Regions from separate parts of the Homo sapiens genome. Here regions 2, 3, 4, 5, 6 and 7 are each linked to region 1. Evidence: promoter capture Hi-C in 16 types of primary human blood cells and fetal thymus (Javierre and others, 2016). All regions are on one chromosome and are shown on one strand. Each heading gives the region's core, a stretch centred on a gene start or on the middle of the fragment in contact. The rest is flanking DNA. Distances are from core to core; before and after follow the strand shown.

Region 1 (2,758 bases), core at 176-2,675:
TTAATAAAGCTAGCAGTCTAGCTTTATTAATATTCATTTATTCAATAGCTCTGACCTTTCTTATCCTTGGTTTACCCAGCTCTGAAATGGTTGCAAAGATTACTAAAAATATATGTAAGTTACTTTCATAAATTAGAAACTAAGAAGTAAAAATTACTTTCAAAAATCTGCCATTGGCCAGGTGCGGTGGCTCAAGCCTGTAATCCCAGCACTTTCGGAGGTCGAGGAGTGCTGATCATGAGGTCAAGACATCGAGACCATCCTGGCCAACATGGAGAAACCCTGTCTCTACTAAAATACAAAAAATTGGCTGGGAGTCGTGGCATGCACCTGTAGTCCCAGCTACTCAGGAGGTTGAGGCAGGGAGAATTGCTTGAACCCGGGAGGCGGAGGTTGCAGTGAGCTGAGATGGCACCACTGCACTCCAGCCTGGTGGCAGAGTGAGACTGGGTCTCAAAAAAAAAAAAAAAAAGTCTGCAATCATAATTACTTACAGTTTAATCTGGAATTTAGTACTCTATTCTATTTTCAAAGCTGCTATAGGGTATGCTGTCCTTTGTAGTTCCACTTTTAGCAGAATTGAACGTTTTTCTAACGGGTACAGATCTTTATGCTTGAGACTGTGTGGAAACCTTGGACTTGAGCTCCACTCTCAGTTATTTTTTGTATTTGCTAAAACTTAAATACATTCTGTCCACCTCTAGCATGATACCTGGTATGTGATAGGAACCCAATAAAAGTTTGGCTTTGATGGGAGTGTATGTTTCTACATTATTTTTGGAGGGTAATTAGGTAGTATCTTTCCAAATTTTAAGTTTGTATGTGTTTCATTCCAGACATTCTACTTCTAGGAATTTAGATATAGTTGTATATATGTATAAGGATGTTCACATTGCAGCATTGTCTGTAACAAGATTTGAAAAGAACCTGAAAACAACTAAAGGTCCATTAATATTGAACTGGCTAAATACGTTATGGTACTTTTAATTATGTTACTCATAAGCAAGTAAATTGCCTATAGCCATTAAAAATAGAATCTATGTATGCATAAATTGACTGGGATAATCAGTGTTTAAGGTATACTGTAGAATATGTACAGTTACTCCTTTTGTATAAAAATAGAGGATATACATATATGTGAAAGTAAATATGTATACAAAATATGCAAAATGTGAATGTAAGCGCTGGTAAATATCTAGAAGAACACACAAGGAACCGGGGCGTGGGGCGGATCGGGCAGAGGGACTTCCCTGTGCCTCACTGTTTGAATTCTGAAGGGTGCATACACGCCCTTATTGACCTGTGCTACTGGCCTCTGGCTAAAGAGGGCGCTGTAGCCACCAAAGTCCTGTTTACAGATCAGGAGTCTCAGTAAGCCAGCGTGGCTACGCCATCACGACCGGCGGTGGCACATGCGCAATAGCGAGACGCTGGAGCGCGGCGTAGGTGGCTGCCGAGTCTTTTCCTGTTTAGGGTCTTATCCTGGCATTGAGGGCGCCGGACTGGCGCTTTTGGCCGACTTGGCATTGGGTGGGCGGCTTCTTGGGACCCACATGAGCCAGTGGCATCATCCCCGCAGTGGCTGGGGCCGGAGACGCGACTTTTCAGGACGCTCCTCAGCCAAGAAGAAGGGCGGAAACCACATCCCCGAAAGGTAGTATGTCTTGGTCCCTTGGCGTGGCCTTTCCAGCTCGTGGCTTCTGGGTCTGGGCTTCATCGTTTGTGGTCTCTGCCTCTCGCCGTTGCCATCGCAAGCTTGACTTGTCCGCCGCTTGCTTTGAGGCTTTGACCCTCTGCGCCACCCGCTGTAGCTGAAAGGGGCGATGTCTGTGATGTCCTGTGATTTCTCCATATTCTTGTAAAAGGGAGGTTCTGGCCATTGCTCTTAGGTAAAATACGGAAGGATTGCTTTAAGGTGGGACTGTTACTGTTGGGGACACTCCTTAATTCCCAAAATGGAACCTCCTCAATTCCTTGTTACGTTGGCACGGAAAGTGTAATGGTTTGAGTTAGGAACCCAGCAGTAGTAGCGCCCTGAGATCTCACATGGAAAGTTGGTTTGTATTGTTTCCAGAAATCACAAAGAGCATACTTTGTTACTTCCTAACAGGCCTCATTTGAAAGATAACTCCTTTATACGTACAAATGATTAATTTTGAGACTTTGCACGTAGGTGCATTGAACTGTTTTTACTCCTTGAGACCATCCTCCACCATCTCATACCTCAATAAATCCTCTTCATTTTATCTACTATCTTTTGACTGTCACTTTCTGTCAGTACCCTAATACAGGTCTTGCCTGACTTATTGCAGTGGGGTTCTAATTAGTGAATCTCCTGTTTGTTTTCTTCCAATCCGTTTTTTTGTTTTTGTTTTTGGGATGGATTTTTGCTCTTCTCCGCCAGGCTGGAGTGCAATGGTCCAATCTCGGCTCACTGCAACCTCCGCCTCCCGGATTCAAGCGATTCTCCTCCCTCAGCCGCCCAAGTTGCTGGGATTACAGGCGCCCGCCACCACACCCGGCTAATTTTTTTTGTATTTTTAGTAGAGATGGGGTTTCACCATGTGGGTCAGGCTGGTCTCGAACTCCTGACCTCAGGTGATCCACCTGCCTCAGCCTCCCAAATTGCCGGGATTAACAGACGTGAGCCACCGCGCCCGGCCAGTTCCTAGCATTATTAAGTGAAGTTCACAGTCCCTCTTCTAGCAGGTTTTCTCTTAAAATATGAACTTGAAGTTTCCTACTAATTGAACTTTAT
Region 2 (2,758 bases), core at 123-2,622, 770 kb before region 1:
AAGTGAGTCACACGCCTGCACTAGTTAGGGTATCTACAAAGAAGAGACCACCTGCGAACAGACGCGGGGTCACCGGGTAGGCAAGAAAGGGGGATCCAAAGGTCAGAGCTTCCCACTTTCTGTCCTGCCCCACCCCTCCCACAGCTGCCCAACCCAGGAAGCCCTCCCGGACAGCCCCTGCACCTTGTCCCGGCCATAGCGACGCAACAGAGTGTAGGGCCAGGACAGGAGTGGCTCCAGTATCTGACTCTGGGCCCCCACGGTCAGGAGAGTCAGCCTTTCAGCCTCCACCCTCAGCACGTAGGAGCCATGCAGGCCACAGCGCTCGGCGGCCTCAGTCCTCTGCACCGTTACCCAGAATTGGGATCCTGGAAGGCATACACGATTAGACAGCTGCGGGGGAGGGACGGGGGCAGCAGTGGGGACCCAGAGGACTCATGAGCATAGTGTCCAAGCACTCACTCGGAAGCCAGATCTCAGGGCCTTCCTACTTCTTACTTCCCCATGGGCCCCTGGGTATCCACCCACTTCCCAAAGGCCCTCGGCCCTCCTCCTCTTCACTCCATCCCTGCCCGGGCTTCTGAGGCGTCTACCTTCCCAGGTAGGGCTGTACAAGGAGTTCTCCAGCATCTCCAGGGCAGAAAGCTTAGGTGGGTTATCGGTAGGCGCCAGAGTCCAGCTGCCTTTCTGTAGTAGAGAGCATCGAGAAACCCGTAATTTCCTCAGCGGGGAGCGGGGGTCGGTCTGAGGCAGCCCCATTTCTCTGCCTCTGTAACTGCCCCCACCCCGCATCGCCGCAGCTCCTCACCGGAAAGGCGTTTCGGCACAGCGTCTGCACCCAGGCTGCACTGGACGGCGCGTCGGCCGCCAGCAGGTGCGAGCGCTGAGCAGTGTCCAGGCGGAAGGCAGTGGCGCCGGGCTCAGGGGGGGTCTCCACGGTGACGGGGGCCACACTCACACACTCAGCCAGACGGATCACTTTGCAGTCCAGGCGGCGCGAGCTCCCTCGGCCACCCCCAGAGCTCGACCCCTTATGGTCAAAGAACTCGAGCCGCGCTACGCCGTGGGGACTGGCCGGGTAGAGCACGGCCCAGGTCTTCCTCCACCTCTAGGGAGAGAGAGAGAGTGCTCGAGAGGGAGTGGCGTGCGCAGGCGGCCCGGGTCCCGACGGGGAAGGAGGTTGCGGCGCAAGTCGATTTGGGATCTGGGGCTTCCAAACGGGGTTGGGGGCGAAGTTTCCCAAGGACGATGCCACTCCGTCTCCCCAGGACCAGAACCCCTAGACTACAGACGCTTCCCGGGAGTGTGCAAAGCAACTTCACGGGAAAGTCACAGGCTCTCCAACTCCCGGCGCCGCTCTCCAGCCCGCTGCCCACCTCTCCCTGTTTCTGGGCTCTCTCACCCACTACTAGCCCGGATAAGGTTCGGCATCCATGCGCCAGACTACCTTGGTCCCAAAGCGCTGACTCTGCAAAAAAAGCGGCCCTTCCATCACTGCTCCGTCCATGGCCCCCGGCGGTTCCTTCCGCGCTTCCTGGCCCTGCGGCGGGAGGCGGGGCGGGAGGCGGGGCCGGGTTCCCTGGAGGAGTTTCCGCCCCTCCCCGGCCCCCGCCGGCAGCCGCTGGGGGGGTCGCGGTGGGGTGAGGGAGAGGAGCGAGAAGGAATGGTGGAGACCCCCGGATTAGCCGGGAGCTGCAGCACCCCAGGCCCCTACCCGCCGTCGTGGGGGCGCGCCAGTGGCTCCACCGAAAGTCCTCGGTTTTGGCGCGAGGGCCCTGGCCTCTGGGCGTGGTGGCTGCGCGTGACGTCATATGCCCAAGGTGACGTCAGAGTGAAAGCCATGACATCACCCCGAAAGCGCCCCGGGCACCGGAGAGACCCACACGGGCCTCCGGGGCTTTATTTACCCTGGCCGGGCCCGCCCCCAGCCCCGCCCGAGCCGGGCTGTTTAGACTCCGCTGGCCCGGGACTCGGAGGGAGGGCTGGGGTTGAACCGCTTCCCGCCACCACCGGGGCCGCCCCGCCGCCCGGCCGCCGCTTGCATGTCAGCTCCCTGACCGCAGAGGCCTGGCCTCCATGCCGCGGGAAGAGAAAGCTTCATTGAACGAGCCGGGAGGGCCAGGGAGGGGGAGGGGGCGCGGCAGTGGCCAGCTCCACGGGGAGGGAGGACCCAGAGGAGGAGAGGAGGGAACTGGCCGGGAGGAATGGAAGGAGAAGGCGGAATGTGGGAGGGCTCAGGGGGATGTGGGAGGGACGAACGGAGAAGGGGGAGAGAGGGGGGTCCAGTCTCCCCTGGCCGAGCATTTTTTTTTTTTTTTGGAAGTCCTAGGACTGATCTCCAGGACCAGCACTCTTCTCCCAGCCCTTAGGGTCCTGCTCGGCCAAGGTAGGGGGAGTCACGCTAACCGCAGAGGGAATGAGTAGGGGATGGAGAGGATGTGGAGGGACCAGGGAAAACGGGTGGTGTGGGATGGAGTCGAGGGGAAGCCACCCAACTGAGAGTTTGATTCTTGTCAAAGGGCAAGTGAGACAGAGTACACGGAGGAGGCACATACCGGAGGCGGGGGCTACGGGTGTTCGAACAGGGCCGCCAGGAGCGCCCTAAGGGAGGGGGCTCCTCCGGGAGGCGCTGCCCCTGGGTCCCCAACCCAGAACAAAGCTGCCTTGTTGGATTGATTGTTTGGGTTGGGGGAAGCATGTTGACGGGGGCTTGCTGTAGAGGGGCTGTTCTCAGCCCTAGGCAGAGAAGGCCTTGGCT
Region 3 (2,758 bases), core at 179-2,678, 750 kb before region 1:
ACTGCAAATATGATGGACATAGAATCTGGGTGCACAACTGCCACATTGGTATTTGATGGGAAGAGCAACCCAGGAAGATTAGGGGATGGGAGGGAAAGACGTTCATTCTCTTTTCCATAGCTTGTTTCTCCATCTTCCCACCTTCCTGTAGAGCTCTCAGTCCCTCCACTTCTACCCACCCTTCTCCACAGTGCATCTATCTCCCTCCCTCTGTGCAGGGCGCCTCCCAAATTGCCTGTCCACTCTGCAGGTGATGCCTTCAGTGAAGAGGCCAACAGGAGGTTTGAACGCTACCCTGGCCAGACCAGCAACCAGATTATCTAAGTGCCACTGCCCTCTGCAAACCACCACTGGCCCCTAATGGCAGGGGTCTGAGGCTGCCATTACCTCAGGAGCTTACCAAGAAACCCATGTCAGCAACCGCACTCATCAGACCATGCACTATGGATGTGGAACTGTCAAGCAGAAGTTTTCACCCTCCTTCAGAGGCCAGCTGTCAGTATCTGTAGCCAAGCATGGGAATCTTTGCTCCCAGGCCCAGCACCGAGCAGAACAGACCAGAGCCCACCACACCACAAAGAGCAGCACCTGACTAACTGCCCACAAAAGATGGCAGCAGCTCATTTTCTTTAATAGGAGGTCAGGATGGTCAGCTCCAGTATCTCCCCTAAGTTTAGGGGGATACAGCTTTACCTCTAGCCTTTTGGTGGGGGAAAAGATCCAGCCCTCCCACCTCATTTTTTACTATAATATGTTGCTAGGTATAATTTTATTTTATATAAAAAGTGTTTCTGTGATTCTTCAGAGCCCAGGAGTCAGTGCTGGTGGTTGGAGGGACCTGCCCCCACTGGTTCATTTAACCCTCTGTCTCGGTGCCCTCAGAACCTCAGCCAGAAAGGCAAGGAGGAAATCAGAGCAGGAGCCTCATACTCTTGGTGATCTATTCATTCTGTGACCTCAGGGGTCACATATAAGGTCAGTGTTTCTCGTCCCCGCCGGATCTGCACTGCCAACTGGGATTGGGTTCGAACAGCTTCATAAACATCTTCAGCATTTTGTACCATCTGCTCCCCAATGGCCAAAATCACATCACCAGGCCGCAGACCAGCCCTATAGAGAAAAATGGACAGAGAGAAAGGAAGGAGTACAAAGCCTAGTTCAAGGACACATGCACACCTTGCCCATCCCCATATCACACTGCAGCCTCTCCCTCACCGGTGTGCAGGGGAGCCCAGGATGACTTTATGGATGAGTACACCATGCTGAACATCGGGAAAGCTTGGTTCTCGAAGCTGTAGTTCAGCAAGGATGCTGAAAGTACACAGATCACCCTATTAGCCAAACCCAGGCATTCTCCCCATCCTGAGTTCCACCTCAAGTCTCTCATCAACACATTGATAAATATATGGACAGGACATGGGCTAGGTACTACAAAATACAATGGCAACTCACTTTCTGTCTTCTAGCAATAAAGTGCAACATGTACATAAAAGATGTACACCACATGAGGGCACCAAATGACAAACAGTGTTAAATCAATAGCACTAATGTCATTCTAGAATACTAAGAGAAGCTTTAAGGGGAAAGAACTTAAGTTGAGCCTAAAAGGATGGATCTGATATTAACCATATAAAACAAGAACAGCATAAATAAAAAACATGGGAGTAGGAAATCAGGTTGGCTGAGTATTCATATAGGAAGGTATTACAGCCAGGTCTAGAAAGTTGATTTACAGACAGATGGAAAATGGCCCTTAAATGCCAAGTTAATGGATTGAAGGCTTGAAATCAAAGCAGTAACAGGATGAAATCAATCTGGTGACAGGTGTACAAAGTGGAGTGGGATAAGAAAGTCAAGATGATGAAGGGAGACAGCTCTTGTGATTATTTCAAGTGTGACACAGTTCATCTTAGATAAAGACAGAAATGAGAACAAAGCTCAATAGAGGTGCCCCCCTCTGATTACACTGGTCACATTACATGTCACTGTCCCTAAAGCTCATACCTGGGACTCAGGGTCAGCATCATCACCCCAATGTAGCGCCGCTGGGACCCACTGATTCCGGAGGAGGAATCTGTGACAGAGGGACAAATGAGCCCCACCCAGCTACATCCTTCCTTCCCTGCCCTCTTCTCCCAGTAGACCACCCTCCAGGAAGTCCCACTGAATGCCCTTCCCCTATTTCCACCACATTAAAGGAACCCGTTTCCCCATAAGGCAGGCTCACTCTTCTTTTCCCCACGATGCAGAAACTCTCGAAGACGATCAGAAGGGATGGCAAAGGAGATTCCAGCTGTGACCTTCATGGTGTTCACTCCAATCACCTCCCCATCCTGCAGGGATACAGCCCCCAGTTCCCTAGCCTAAACAAATAGTAGGGGATGGGGGCACCCGAACAAAAGTACCAGCAAGTGTTGGGGAGATCTGGTTGGATATTGAGAGATAGCCAACAAAGAACTGCTCAGAAACTTGACCAAACATCCTTGAATTAGGGGAAACCTACCCTTCCCACACTGACCTGGGGCAGGGATTCTTGGAAGGAAGGATGTCTCACTCACCAGGTTAACCAGGGGACCTCCAGAGTTTCCAAACTGTAGGACAAGGAGAAAACATGAAAGAGATCTGGGGATTCTAAGTCTGGGGGCATACCAGGATGTAGGTACTTTCTCCAAATTCTCTTCTTTCTCAGCCCATGAATAAGTGGCCACATTTTTGCAGCCTAAGCTCTATATAGGCTCATCCACCATATATCAGTTGG
Region 4 (2,758 bases), core at 101-2,600, 710 kb before region 1:
TAGACAGGAAACCACCCGGGGTCATGGTGACAGTGATGGGGCCTGACTGTAGGTCTCTTGACCCTAGAGCCAGAGAACTCCCACTGGACCCTGTGTCAATCCTTAGACCCTGTGCCTCCCCAGCAGCTCCTTGTGCCCCTTCCACGGTTCCAGCTGAATAAGGTTCTTCAGCCACCTCACCTGTACCTTTGGACTCTGCTGGGGCCTCTCCTCTCTTGGAGGGCTCTCTTCCTCTTGACCCATCTTCTGGAGGGCCAGACCCCTGCCTTGGGGCTCCTGGTTCAGTCCCTTCTCTCTGCGGGCACTGAGGGGCCAATCCCCAACCTTGCGCAAAGCCAGAGACACAAAAGTGCTAGATAGATCCAGTGAGTCCTGTGAACAAAATGGAAAGTTAGGGAGGGGGTGGGGATGAAGTACATTCTGGAGGAGGAGGAGGAAAATGAGCAGAGACCAAGAAGGGAAAAAAGGGGCTCTCACCTCTTCTTCACCACACTGTCCCTGAACTGGGTTTCCAGGGCTGGATGGGGGGCTCTCATCTCCATCTGAGGTAGTGCTGGCCTGGAAGAAAGATAGACAGGTACAGAGTTGGGATCACCTTGAGCTGCCTGCTTTCTTGGCCCTCACCTTCCTGGCACTTGGTGCTCTTAGTACCTGCCCTAGATACTCACCTTGGGCTCCCCACAGTACTGCTCCAAACGCTCCTGTCGCTTCCGTTCCTTTTGACGCTGCAATAGTAATGGTAACAATGATGTATTTTGAACACTTACTGTATGTCGTGTGCTGGGCTAAGATTTCGCATTCCATCTTTGCAGCTCTATGAGACAGGCATCATTATTATCCTCATTTTGCAGGTGAAAAAGCAGACAAGAGAGGCACCAGCAAGAGGCCTCATGTAAGGAGGCAGATTCCTACCTAGGCAGCACAGTAGGATTCCAGAACCACTGCACCAGATGGCCTGTGAGAGACCCCCCAGTCCCTGGGCCCCTTGTGTCCTCCTGGCAAGAGAGTCCACTGCAGGCCATCTTGAGCTCTCTCCTGTTCCCACAAAGTTTCCTCTTTCCCTCTCCCAAATCCCTTTGGCTCCCCTGCACCCTCCAGCCATGCTCTAGCCACCTTCTTCTTGAGTCGCTTTTTCTCTGCTTTCTGTTTCATGCGCTCCTCCTCAGCCACCAGCTCCTCAGCCAGGCGATTGGCTTCCTGAAGGACGAAGGGCAGGTGACAGAAAAAGAGAGAAACAGGGAAATGGAGAGCAAACATGAAAGGGGGCAGGCAGTATAGAAGGATCTTGAAAGGTACCAATTAGGGGAGAATATAGGGATGGGGATACAGGGATTGAAAGAACCCTGGGGGACGGCAAAGCCCTCTCCTGAGAATCTCACCTCTTCTGTCACCAGGAGCTTCTGGGGCATGGCCACCTGAAGCAGGCTGTCTGAGACACTGGGGAAGGTGGCAGAGGCAGAGGGGCTTTGAGGGCAGGGCTCAGACTCTTGGGGAGGATACAGGAAGGACTTGCGGAGACCACAGTAGGTGCCCAGTCCCTCAGCCCCCTTGCCCCTGTCACTCTGTCCAGTTGATTTCCCTTCATCATCCAAGTGGCCCAGGAGGTAATCTGTCAGGAGGGAGAAAGAGACAGGAAAGAAAGGACATGAGAGCGGGGTGCATCTGAGGGTCAGCCCTCCCAGGGTACCAGCCTCGATCCCTGGGCCCGGTCCCTGCACTCCCCACCATGGTGCCACAGCTGCAGCCGCCCGCTGCTCCCATCCACATGGATCCGGTGCAGGCCCTGGGGATCACTCTCCACAAGCCGTCGAAGAAAATCCACTATGTCCTGGGAGGGGAGGGGAGGGGAGGGGAGGCTGGTGTTGGGGGCAGTTCCTGGAGAGAGCAAGGGCTTCGCTGGCTTGATCTCTCCACCATGGCAGCCACCAACCAGCTATCCAGCCCAGAGACTCTCACTGGCTCTGACCTCTCCCTCCTCAGCACCGCAAAATCTGCTGCCCCCAGCTATTGTAGTGAATCACCTCCCCTCGCTGCTTTCCTGCCTTCCCAAGGGTTGAGTATGGTATTCAACCTGGCCTCCTCTACCATCCAGGATCTTCTCTCCTCAACCTGAGTTAGCCACACTGAGGCCCCTGGAATGAAGCCCTCCCACCTGCTCTTCCAGCTAGGCCCCCTGTCATATCTGCAGTATGAACAGCTCCACATAACCCACCCTGAGGCTAGCTCACACCTAAACAAGTACAGCAGCTCCTGGCTGGCCGCTCCTCTGCACCTCATCTGTTTCTCCACAAAACTAAGCTCTAAGAAATTACTTCCCTACTCAGGGACATCCAATAATCCCCCACTGCCAAGGCCATAGGCAGAGTTGAACCTAATTCCTCAGCCTACGATTCAGAGCCTTCCAAAAGGCTCCCAGGCTGACCTTTCCAGCCCTCCTTTTAATCCTCCCCTGCTTCACTGCTGTCCTCCCTCCCACCACCAGGCTCCCTCCAGCCTTGGGGCCTTCCCCCAGCTGCTCTCCAATCCCTCCTAACTCTTGAGCTTCTTTCTCACATCTTGCCTCACCTTCAAGGTCCAGTTCAAATTCTATCTCCCTTCAAAGCCTTCCCAGACCCTTTCATCTCCAATTATCTCTGCCTCCTCCAACTAACCTGCAACCACATTATCTGTGTTACACAATTTAGAAACTTGTTATTGATTGCTTTCTATTGCTCTCCTCATTGGCCAGGCAGCATGGAATTCCAAAGGGCATTGTGCT
Region 5 (2,758 bases), core at 82-2,581, 620 kb before region 1:
CTTATATCAAACAACTTTATTAAGTTATCTAGTTCTAATAAGTCGTCCATAGATTCTCTTGGTTTTTCTACATGGAAAATCACATCATCCAGGAATAATCACAGTTTTATTTCTTCCTTTGTAACTATTCCAACTTATATTTCTTTTTCTAGAAAACTTTAATAGATTTTCTAGTATTGAAACAACCTTACATTTCTGGAATAAACCCAACTTTGTAATAGTGTTACCTTTTTTATGCATTGCTAAACAGCCTGCTCATTTTTTTTAAAACTTTTTACTATGTTCATAAAGGAGATTGGCCCAAATAAATAAATAGAAAAAAGAAAAAATAGTAAAGGAGATTGGCCTGTATTTTTCCTTATTTATGTGGAAACTGCCTAGTTTTGTTGTTATGAGTACTTTTTTTTTTTTTTTTGAGACAGAGTCTCTCTCTGTCGCCCAGGGTGGAGTGCAGTGGTGCGATCTAGGCTCACTGCAACCTCCGCCTCCCGGGCTCAAGCAATTCTCCTGCCTCAGCCTCCCGAGTAGCTGGGATTACAGGCATGAGCCACCACGCCCGGCCTAGAATTTTTAATCTACATATTTAACTTAATGTCTTTAATCAATATCTTCATTCTTCTTTAAAACAATTCATAGATTTTAGAGTTCTTTAACATTAATAATTCTCTTTGAATTTATACATTTTTGTAACCCTATATTTTAATTCTACTATTTTATTAATCTCACAAATCAGATATTATTATTATTATTATTATTTTTTTTTTTTGAGACTGAGTTTCGCTCTTGTTGCCCAGGCTGGAGTGCAATGGCGCAATCTCAGCTCACTGCAACCTCCGCCTCCCAGGTTCACGCAATTCTCCTGCCTCAGTAATCCCGAGTAGCTGGGATTACAGGCATGCACCACCAGGCCTGGCTAATTTTTTTTTTTTTTTTGTATTTTTAGTAGAGACAGGGTATCTCCATGCTGAGGCTGGTCTCGAACTCCTGACCTCAGGTGATCCGCCCACCTTGGCCTCCCAAAGTGCTGGGATTACAGGTGTGAGCCACCATGCCTGGCCACAAATCAGATATTATTTTAAATAGGTGATACTTGTATAGGTTTGCTCATATGTTTAATGTTAATACTTAATATTGCTTGCTCTTCTTTCTTGTATCTCAGATCTTCCATCTTGTGTTATTTTCCTTCTACCTGAAGTACATCTTTAGAAGTTACTTTAGGCCAGGCTTAGTGGCTCATGCCTGTAATCCCACCACTTTGGGAGACTGAAGCGGGTGGATTGCTTGAGGACAGGAGTTTGAGACCAGCCTGGGCAACATGGTGAAACCCCGTCTCTCAAAAATGCAAAAATTAGCCGAGTGTGGTGGCACGTTCCTGTAGTCCCAGCTATTCAGGAGGCTGAGGTGGGAGAATCACCTGAGCCCAGGAGGTCAAGTCTGCAGTGAGCTGTGATCACGTCATTGCACTCCAGCTTAGGTGACAGAGTGAGACCCTCTCTTTCTCTCTCAAAAGAAAGTTACTTTAGTGAGGATTTGTGGTAGACAGAATTCTAAGATGGCCTCCAAAGTTCTCATCTTTTGTTTATGTACCCTATAAAATCCCCCTTCCCCTTAAGTCTGAGCAGAACTCGTGAATATGATGGGATTTCTCTCCTGTGATTACGTTATTTACCTGACATAAGGGATTTTTCTGATGTAGTTAAAGTCTCTAATCAGTTAATCAAATTGGTGATTATTTTGGGTGGACCTGACTTAATGAAGTGAGCCCTTTAAAAGGCTTCAAGCCTTTACAGAAGTTAGAAAGATTCTCTCCTTTACCTTAAAGAAGCAAATTGCTACACTGTGGAGAGGGCCACATGGCAGGGATGGCAGATGGCCTCTGGGAGCCAGGCCTCAGTTCTATAGTCACAACAAATTGAATTCTGCCAATAACCAGTGAGCTTGAAAGAGGACCCTGAACTTCAATGAGCTTTCAACCCTGGATGACTTCTTGATTTCAGCCTGGTGACCTCCTGAGTGGAGGACCCAGCAAACATGTACCCAGACTCCCGACCCACAGAAACTGTGAGATAATAAATGTGTTTTTTTAAAAAATAAACATATTTATTATATTTTTTAGAGACAGGCTCTCTCTCTGTCACCCAAGCTGGAATGCAGTGGCACTATCACAGCTCACAGCAACCTCACACTCCTGGCTCAAGCAATCCTTCTGCCTCTCTGCCTCCCAAGTAACTGGGACTACAGGAGCATGCCACCACTCTGGCTAATTATTATTTTTTATTTTTTATTTTTTCAGAGGTAATCGAGTTAGAATTAAATTTTTTTTTCTTTTATAGAGATGGGGATTCTTGTTATGTTGCCCAGGCTGGTCTCAAATTGCTGGCCTCACAGGATCCTCTTGCCTTGGCCTCCAAAGTGGTGGGATCACAGGCATGAGCCATCATGCCTGACCTATGTTGCTTCACCCACTGAATTTATAGTAATTTGTTATGTAGCAATAGAAAACTAATATAAGATCTAATATAATAAACTTCCTCAGTTTTATTTGTTGGAGGATGTATTTATTTCACCTTAATGTTGGGGTATCAGTTTGCTACTGGCTAAGGAATTATAGGTTGACAGTTTTTTTGTTTTGTTTTGTTTTTTTGTTTGTTTGTTTTGAGACGGAGTCTCGCTCTGTCGCCCAGGCTGAAGGGCAGTGGCGCGATCTCGGCTCACTGCAAGCTCCGCCTCCCGGGTTCACGCCATTCTCCTGCCTCAG
Region 6 (2,758 bases), core at 122-2,621, 610 kb before region 1:
GTGTAGGACATTGGGGTCACCAGGGCTCTTTTAAAGTGTGAGCAGCTTCAGTGGAGTGGTAGGGATGGAGCCAGATAGCAATGGATCGAGAAGTAGATGGGAAGTGAAGATAGAGAATGTGTACTCACTTTGAGTAGTTCAGCAGAGAAAGGAAGAATACAGAATGGTGGCAGCTTGTGGAAGAGGTAGCAGGGACTTGTTTTTCCTAGAATGGAAGTCTTGTTTATGGGTTTTCTGATGCCATGTAAGATCCAGTAGACAGGGTGCAATGAAGACACAAGAGAAAAGACGATTGCTAAATCAAGTCCTCAGAGGAGAGGGGAAGGGGTGGGCCCTGAAAAGAAGGGGATACCATTTTCTTTAAAGAGGAATGTTGGAAGAAAGGAAGGAATTTAGGAAGAAAGAGATAATGACATATGCATGCAGATATATCTAAATTTTCAAAGAAATTCTTACCTAATAGGGCCAGTTTTCTTTTTCAGCAAGGTTATCTGCTGAGAGGTGGGAATGCTGGTGTTGGCTTGGGTGGGAGTAAGGACTTGAAAATGTAAAGGAAGCTTGAAATAACTGTTAAGAGGAAAGAGGAAGACAGTGGAACTGAAATAAGCTCCAAGAGTGTTGAGTACCCTCTGAACTGAAATCCTACACTATAAGCCTCCCCTTCATCTTTCTCATAATAATAATGGCTGACATTTATTGAGTGCTTTATACAAGGCACTGTTCTAAGTGCTTTTCAGGCATTCTCATGTGATTTTTACAACAATCCTGTTAGAAAGTTATTGTTATTATCCCTTTCTTCCAGAAGAGGAAATTGAGGCATAGAGGATTAGTAGCGCTTGTATTTGATGAATCTCTTACGTCTGCAGAAATGGATTCCTTTTCCTGAGGCATCAGAGAAGACAGAAATTTAATCCCAACTCCCGGTTTCTGAACCTTGAGAGCCTAGAGTCTAGGGTTGCTAAGGAGGGAATCTTACCATGCCAGTTTGTGGGCATGATGGTGGCATGGAGGGGGCAGGACAGTGGGATCACTGTTGCTGTCAGCTTTTGACAACTACATAGGGAAACTCGGATATTCTTGAGTGATTTTTCCAGCATCCTGACTAGAAAGACAAGTGACCGATAGTGATTTGTCAGGTATTGTGGGCTGAGATTGTGTCATCTGAGAGGTGAATAAGAAGAGAGACCTTGTCCCTGTTCCTATCACCTAGAAAAGGAGAATTTTTTCTTGGCAGAGAGACAGGCAGATCTAAAACCTTATATAATAACATAATGATTATTAACTCACCTTATGTGTTTTCTCAGTTTGTGTGACAGATACAATTTGTAGGTAAGCTGTATACCTGACTTGAGTGAAAGGAGAGAGTGATGGGATGGCGTGGATGGAAGAGAAACGGACTTACCTTTTCCTGCTGCAGCCACTGAAGCATCATCTCTGTGTCCTTCCTTTTGAGGTTGCCATGGATACGCCTTTGCATGGTGGTTTGAGGAGATTGATTTCCATTATGATCAGATGATGACGTGGGTTTAAAAAGAGAAAGGATGGAATGCTCTGCTTTTGGGGAGTGGCCGGCGAGCTGCCCAAAAGGCAGAGCCCAGTACAGCCGATAGGGCTGTGGCTTTGTTGGCTGCTTTGGCTTTTGCTGAAGTTGTGAAATGGTGCATCTCTCTCTTTAGAGCGCAGGCTCAGGGTTCCCTGTCTACAGGGTCCTAGTGCCAGGAACTTGCTGGTTGATTCAGGGGGAGGAATCAGCAGGAACTTCGAACAGCCTAAGTAGGACTTCTGATACCACTGAGAGGATTGAGGTTCTTGAGTGCAGGGCTGAGTGCCTCTTGCCTTCTTGCAGAAGTTCCTATATTGAAGATAAGTGAAGCATATAGCATAGCTTTTCTTCTTGACTTTTAGAGGTCTGGGCCCTTGGAGGTGGGCCTGGAAGTCACTGGATATTTCTGGGGAAAGGGGACATTTTGAGATGGAGTAGAGCTGCATTCAGAGTGGGAGTGGGTTTGTAGACGTTTTTTTAGGGTAATGAGGAGCTGGAGAAGGGAAGGAAGTCCGTTGAGTGTGTAGGCCTTATCTATGAAATCCGCAAGGCAGATACTGAGTAGGACCTAGGAACAAAAAGCTCTGTGTACGTTGTCTTCTGGGGTCCTGTGAATATCTGGAATCCAGCTTTCCAAGCTTCCAGTCTCCCAGCCTCCATTTACCACTCAGTAAGCAGACCTTTTCCTTTCTGACTCCTGAAGGACTTAGGTCCACGTTTATCTCTTCCTTACTAGTGCTTTCAGAGATGTATAGTTTTGCCTTGCTGTCAGACTGCCTGGGTTTCAGACAAGCTCCTCTAGGAGTGGGAAAGCAGGGAAAGCAGACAGTTGGGTTAGCCCAGGATCAAGGTTTGATAAGGTGAGACAAGAGGAGATCAAGGTATCAAAGGATGCTGGGGTGCCAGTAAAAACAAGGTAGAAATGGTTCAGACAGGGGAGAAATGGTAGAGGTGGAAAAGAGGCTTTTCCTCCTCACTTTCTCCTTTTTCATTCTCCAAAATCTTATTTTCCTATAATTTCCTGAAATTTCTCTAAGACTATTGGCAGACACAGAGATTATTATTTATCAGACACAGAGATTTTTCCCCTCCTCTCTTCTCATTTTTCTAGATATTTTAGTGGTATTTAATATCATTGGAGAGGAAAATGGATTAGAAATCCAAGAGGTGTCTGTCTCCTCCCTGGCTGGGGTAACATTAACCCAGGATTGTCCT
Region 7 (2,758 bases), core at 104-2,603, 580 kb before region 1:
TTGTACAGTGCACACTCTCTTTGCCACTGTTCTTCACACATTGTACCCTGTCTTGTGGCCTCACTCCTGTTTGGTGTCTTTCTTTAACACTTATCTGCTCGTCCCCAAAGATAGGTGGCAGAGAGTCTTGTTAGAGAAAGTATGATGATTAGGAAAAGGGTTTTCCTGCAGGTTGTGTCCAGGATTCCTCTGGTGTGTCCCCGTAACCCCCAAATCACCTAACTCCTCTCTCCTCTTTTCCTGCTCCCCCATGGGCTATCCCGAGCACAGAAGAACAGCAGCGAGGTAGAGACCCACTCTGGCCGGGGGTTACCAGGCTGGTGGGAGTTGGAGCTAAGGGAGCAGGGTGGAGGGGGAAGCCAGGACTGGAGATGGGTGATGGGGGGATGAGGAAAGGGGAAGAGTAGGAATGGAGCCCAATTTTCAACCCTTTCCACTTGGGGCTGATGAGATTTTTTATGGTCCCCACAGGAGCCATCCCTGGGCAGGCTCCAGGGTCTGTGCCAGGCCCAGGGCTGGTGAAGGACTCACCACTGCTGCTTCAGCAGATCTCTGCCATGAGGCTGCACATCTCCCAGCTCCAGCATGAGAACAGCATCCTCAAGGTGAGGGAGCCACGGGGAGGACTGGGATGGGAGATGGAGCATATTTGCCCCATTGATGATAGATGACAGGGGCCTCCTAGCACCTCTTACCACTATCCTTCTTTTTTCATCCACAGGGAGCCCAGATGAAGGCATCCTTGGCATCCCTGCCCCCTCTGCATGTTGCAAAGCTATCCCATGAGGGCCCTGGCAGTGAGTTACCAGCTGGAGCGCTGTATCGTAAGACCAGCCAGCTGCTGGAGACATTGAATCAATTGAGCACACACACGCACGTAGTAGACATCACTCGCACCAGCCCTGGTATGTACCTGCCAACCCCCAAGATGAATAAAACTGCCCCCTCCACTTGGCCCAGGGATTTAGCCCCTGCTCAGGTGGTTCCCCCACCACAGAAGCTCTTCCCAGCAGTGTTCTTTGGCTTCACTGTTCAGTTTGTTTGATTCACCCACTCTCTCTCAAGTACTTGTTCTGTTAGAGAGTCTTATACCTGCACCCCTAACCCTTAATCCAGTAGAACTGCCTGCCTGCGCCTTGGTGGGCCTCACCAGCTTTCTCTCCCCACAGCTGCCAAGAGCCCGTCGGCCCAACTTATGGAGCAAGTGGCTCAGCTTAAGTCCCTGAGTGACACCGTCGAGAAGCTCAAGGTCAGCTCAGTTTGCCAGGCAGAGCTCACTTCACAGCATAAACTGGTGGAGCCAGGCACTTGTGGAGTTCCTCTGAGCCCAGCCCTGTGCTAGACAGCAATTGGGGAGGAGATGGAAGGGAAGGCAGGGTTCTTGCCTTGGAAGCTCACTGTCTCAGTGCAAACAGAAGACAGATTCTCATAACAAAATGGATAAGCTAGGGTAATCTTTAGAGTGACTGGTTCAGGCTTTAGCTTCCATCAGCGCTGAGATCATTGTGGGGTAGAACGGTTGGGCATGGCTTCCCAAGAGCGGTAGAATGTGAGTTGGGCCTTACAGGATGAGGACTTGCAAAGTAAGGAGGAGTGCTGGTGTGGGGATGGGGTTGGAGATGAGAGCAAAAGTATGTTGATATAGAGGACTAAGTCCCTGCCCCCCTGGTATTAGTGTCTCTGTGAAACCACGTGGTCTTGTGCTAGCCTGTGGGGGTCCCATAAATGAACCCTTGTCTTCCTCTCCCCTTCCCTAGGATGAGGTCCTCAAGGAGACAGTATCTCAGCGCCCTGGAGCCACAGTACCCACTGACTTTGCCACCTTCCCTTCATCAGCCTTCCTCAGGGTGAGGGGGAGCATGGGGTGGAGGATGGGACAGTGTGGAGAGCTCAGGCGGGCCCCCCTCTCCTCCAGAATTGGAGGAGGCCTTTGGAGTCTCAGGTCTAACAACTGCATACCTTGGGTTATCTGGCCAAATTTTACTTACAAGTAACTCAGAAGTGCTTACAGTGCTTTGAAATTCCAATATTTTAGCACCTAAACACCTTCCGTGACTTTTGACACCAGGAGGGCCTCAAAACTCCCTTGTCAGATTATGTATCCCCATTCTTATTTGAAAAATGTGGTCACAATAGCCCAGGATCTCAGAAGCCCTAGTCACCCAGGAGCTGCCTTGGTCTCAGTGCTCAGGGACCCCTTCAGTGGCCCACAGCTCAAGTGAGCCCCTGACCTGGAGTCTTTTTCTCCTCATCAACCACCAGGCCAAGGAGGAGCAGCAGGATGACACAGTCTACATGGGCAAAGTGACCTTCTCATGTGCGGCTGGTTTTGGACAGCGACACCGGCTGGTGCTGACCCAGGAGCAGCTGCACCAGCTTCACAGTCGCCTCATCTCCTAAGCACTCCTTTCCCCTGCTGTCCCCTTCGACCCTCAGCCCTCTGGTGCCGCTCTGCCCGATGCACAGCCACCTCAGCCAGCCCCCAGGTAGAAACGTGGGTTAAGCTCTTCCTGCCCCGTTCAGCTTCACTCCCACCCTTTCAGCGTCCTGCCCCTTCACCTTGACCCGGGTTCCCCCACTCCCATTCCCTGGCCTCTGCCATAATTTGTTGTTCAACTGCTCCCTCCTTCCTGAGGGGCCTCAGGGCTTGTGGGGGGTAGGCTGAGACCCCACCACCAAAGGTTAAGTGAGGTCCCCTTGATTGAGGACTTCACCCCTTGATTAAAGCAACTTCTGCTTCAGTGCTTCCTGTGTGGTG

What was found. The method cuts DNA at HindIII sites, captures the fragments that hold promoters and counts their contacts. A CHiCAGO score of 5 or more calls a contact.
Region 2: a fragment that was not itself captured here is called in contact with the fragment with the promoter of DUSP11 in region 1 in 1 of 17 cell types (fetal thymus); the score reaches 8.0 in fetal thymus.
Region 3: a contact is called between a fragment that was not itself captured here and the fragment with the promoter of DUSP11 in region 1, in 8 of 17 cell types (fetal thymus, non-activated CD4 T cells, activated CD4 T cells and 5 more). The highest score is 16.2, in fetal thymus.
Region 4: a fragment that was not itself captured here is called in contact with the fragment with the promoter of DUSP11 in region 1 in 1 of 17 cell types (naive CD8 T cells); the score reaches 6.1 in naive CD8 T cells.
Region 5: a contact is called between a fragment that was not itself captured here and the fragment with the promoter of DUSP11 in region 1, in 3 of 17 cell types (neutrophils, fetal thymus and non-activated CD4 T cells). The highest score is 8.5, in neutrophils.
Region 6: a fragment that was not itself captured here is called in contact with the fragment with the promoter of DUSP11 in region 1 in 4 of 17 cell types (neutrophils, naive CD8 T cells, total CD8 T cells and 1 more); the score reaches 7.4 in neutrophils.
Region 7: a contact is called between a fragment that was not itself captured here and the fragment with the promoter of DUSP11 in region 1, in 1 of 17 cell types (erythroblasts). The highest score is 8.1, in erythroblasts.

Annotation. Positions count from the first base shown.
Region 1 is chr2:73,778,770-73,781,527 of GRCh38, reverse strand. DUSP11 (dual specificity phosphatase 11) reads left to right here and starts at 1,425. Exons shown (of 9, transcript NM_003584.3): 1 at 1,425-1,654. The coding sequence starts at 1,554. RefSeq lists enhancers at 1,454-1,523, 1,604-1,653, 1,784-1,933. The HindIII fragment of the contact is 6,659 bases long and covers 1-1,757 here.
Region 2 is chr2:74,553,504-74,556,261 of GRCh38, reverse strand. It overlaps LOXL3 (lysyl oxidase like 3), which reads left to right and starts at 2,320. Exons shown (of 14, transcript NM_032603.5): 1 at 2,320-2,386. DOK1 (docking protein 1) reads right to left here and starts at 1,542. Exons shown (of 5, transcript NM_001381.5): 1 at 1,448-1,542; 2 at 809-1,108; 3 at 594-687; 4 at 184-368. The coding sequence starts at 1,507. RefSeq lists enhancers at 1,241-1,300, 925-1,442 and a silencer at 1,451-2,200. The HindIII fragment of the contact is 1,450 bases long and covers 648-2,097 here.
Region 3 is chr2:74,531,172-74,533,929 of GRCh38, reverse strand. It overlaps HTRA2 (HtrA serine peptidase 2), which reads right to left. Exons shown (of 8, transcript NM_013247.5): 4 at 2,559-2,591; 5 at 2,228-2,333; 6 at 2,005-2,074; 7 at 1,216-1,311; 8 at 611-1,110. The coding sequence ends at 945. LOXL3 (lysyl oxidase like 3) reads left to right here. Exons shown (of 14, transcript NM_032603.5): 13 at 1-48; 14 at 251-1,672. The coding sequence ends at 324. Among named protein-coding and RNA genes, the nearest start is that of HTRA2, 2.6 kb to the right of the region's middle. The HindIII fragment of the contact is 295 bases long and covers 1,281-1,575 here.
Region 4 is chr2:74,489,095-74,491,852 of GRCh38, reverse strand. TTC31 (tetratricopeptide repeat domain 31) reads right to left here. Exons shown (of 13, transcript NM_022492.6): 3 at 1,726-1,828; 4 at 1,380-1,609; 5 at 1,114-1,197; 6 at 669-725; 7 at 478-558; 8 at 181-372. Among named protein-coding and RNA genes, the nearest start is that of TTC31, 7.4 kb to the right of the region's middle. The HindIII fragment of the contact is 4,043 bases long and covers 1-2,758 here.
Region 5 is chr2:74,403,263-74,406,020 of GRCh38, reverse strand. No RefSeq gene overlaps it. Among named protein-coding and RNA genes, the nearest start is that of C2orf81, 17 kb to the left of the region's middle. The HindIII fragment of the contact is 9,534 bases long and covers 1-2,758 here.
Region 6 is chr2:74,384,395-74,387,152 of GRCh38, reverse strand. DCTN1-AS1 (DCTN1 antisense RNA 1) reads right to left here and starts at 1,650. Exons shown (of 3, transcript NR_158174.1): 1 at 1,403-1,650. It also overlaps a transcript of DCTN1 not described here. The HindIII fragment of the contact is 1,624 bases long and covers 560-2,183 here.
Region 7 is chr2:74,361,141-74,363,898 of GRCh38, reverse strand. It overlaps DCTN1 (dynactin subunit 1), which reads left to right. Exons shown (of 32, transcript NM_004082.5): 27 at 271-285; 28 at 472-605; 29 at 722-905; 30 at 1,170-1,249; 31 at 1,758-1,847; 32 at 2,263-2,744. The coding sequence ends at 2,400. Among named protein-coding and RNA genes, the nearest start is that of DCTN1, 18 kb to the left of the region's middle. The HindIII fragment of the contact is 2,943 bases long and covers 1-2,758 here.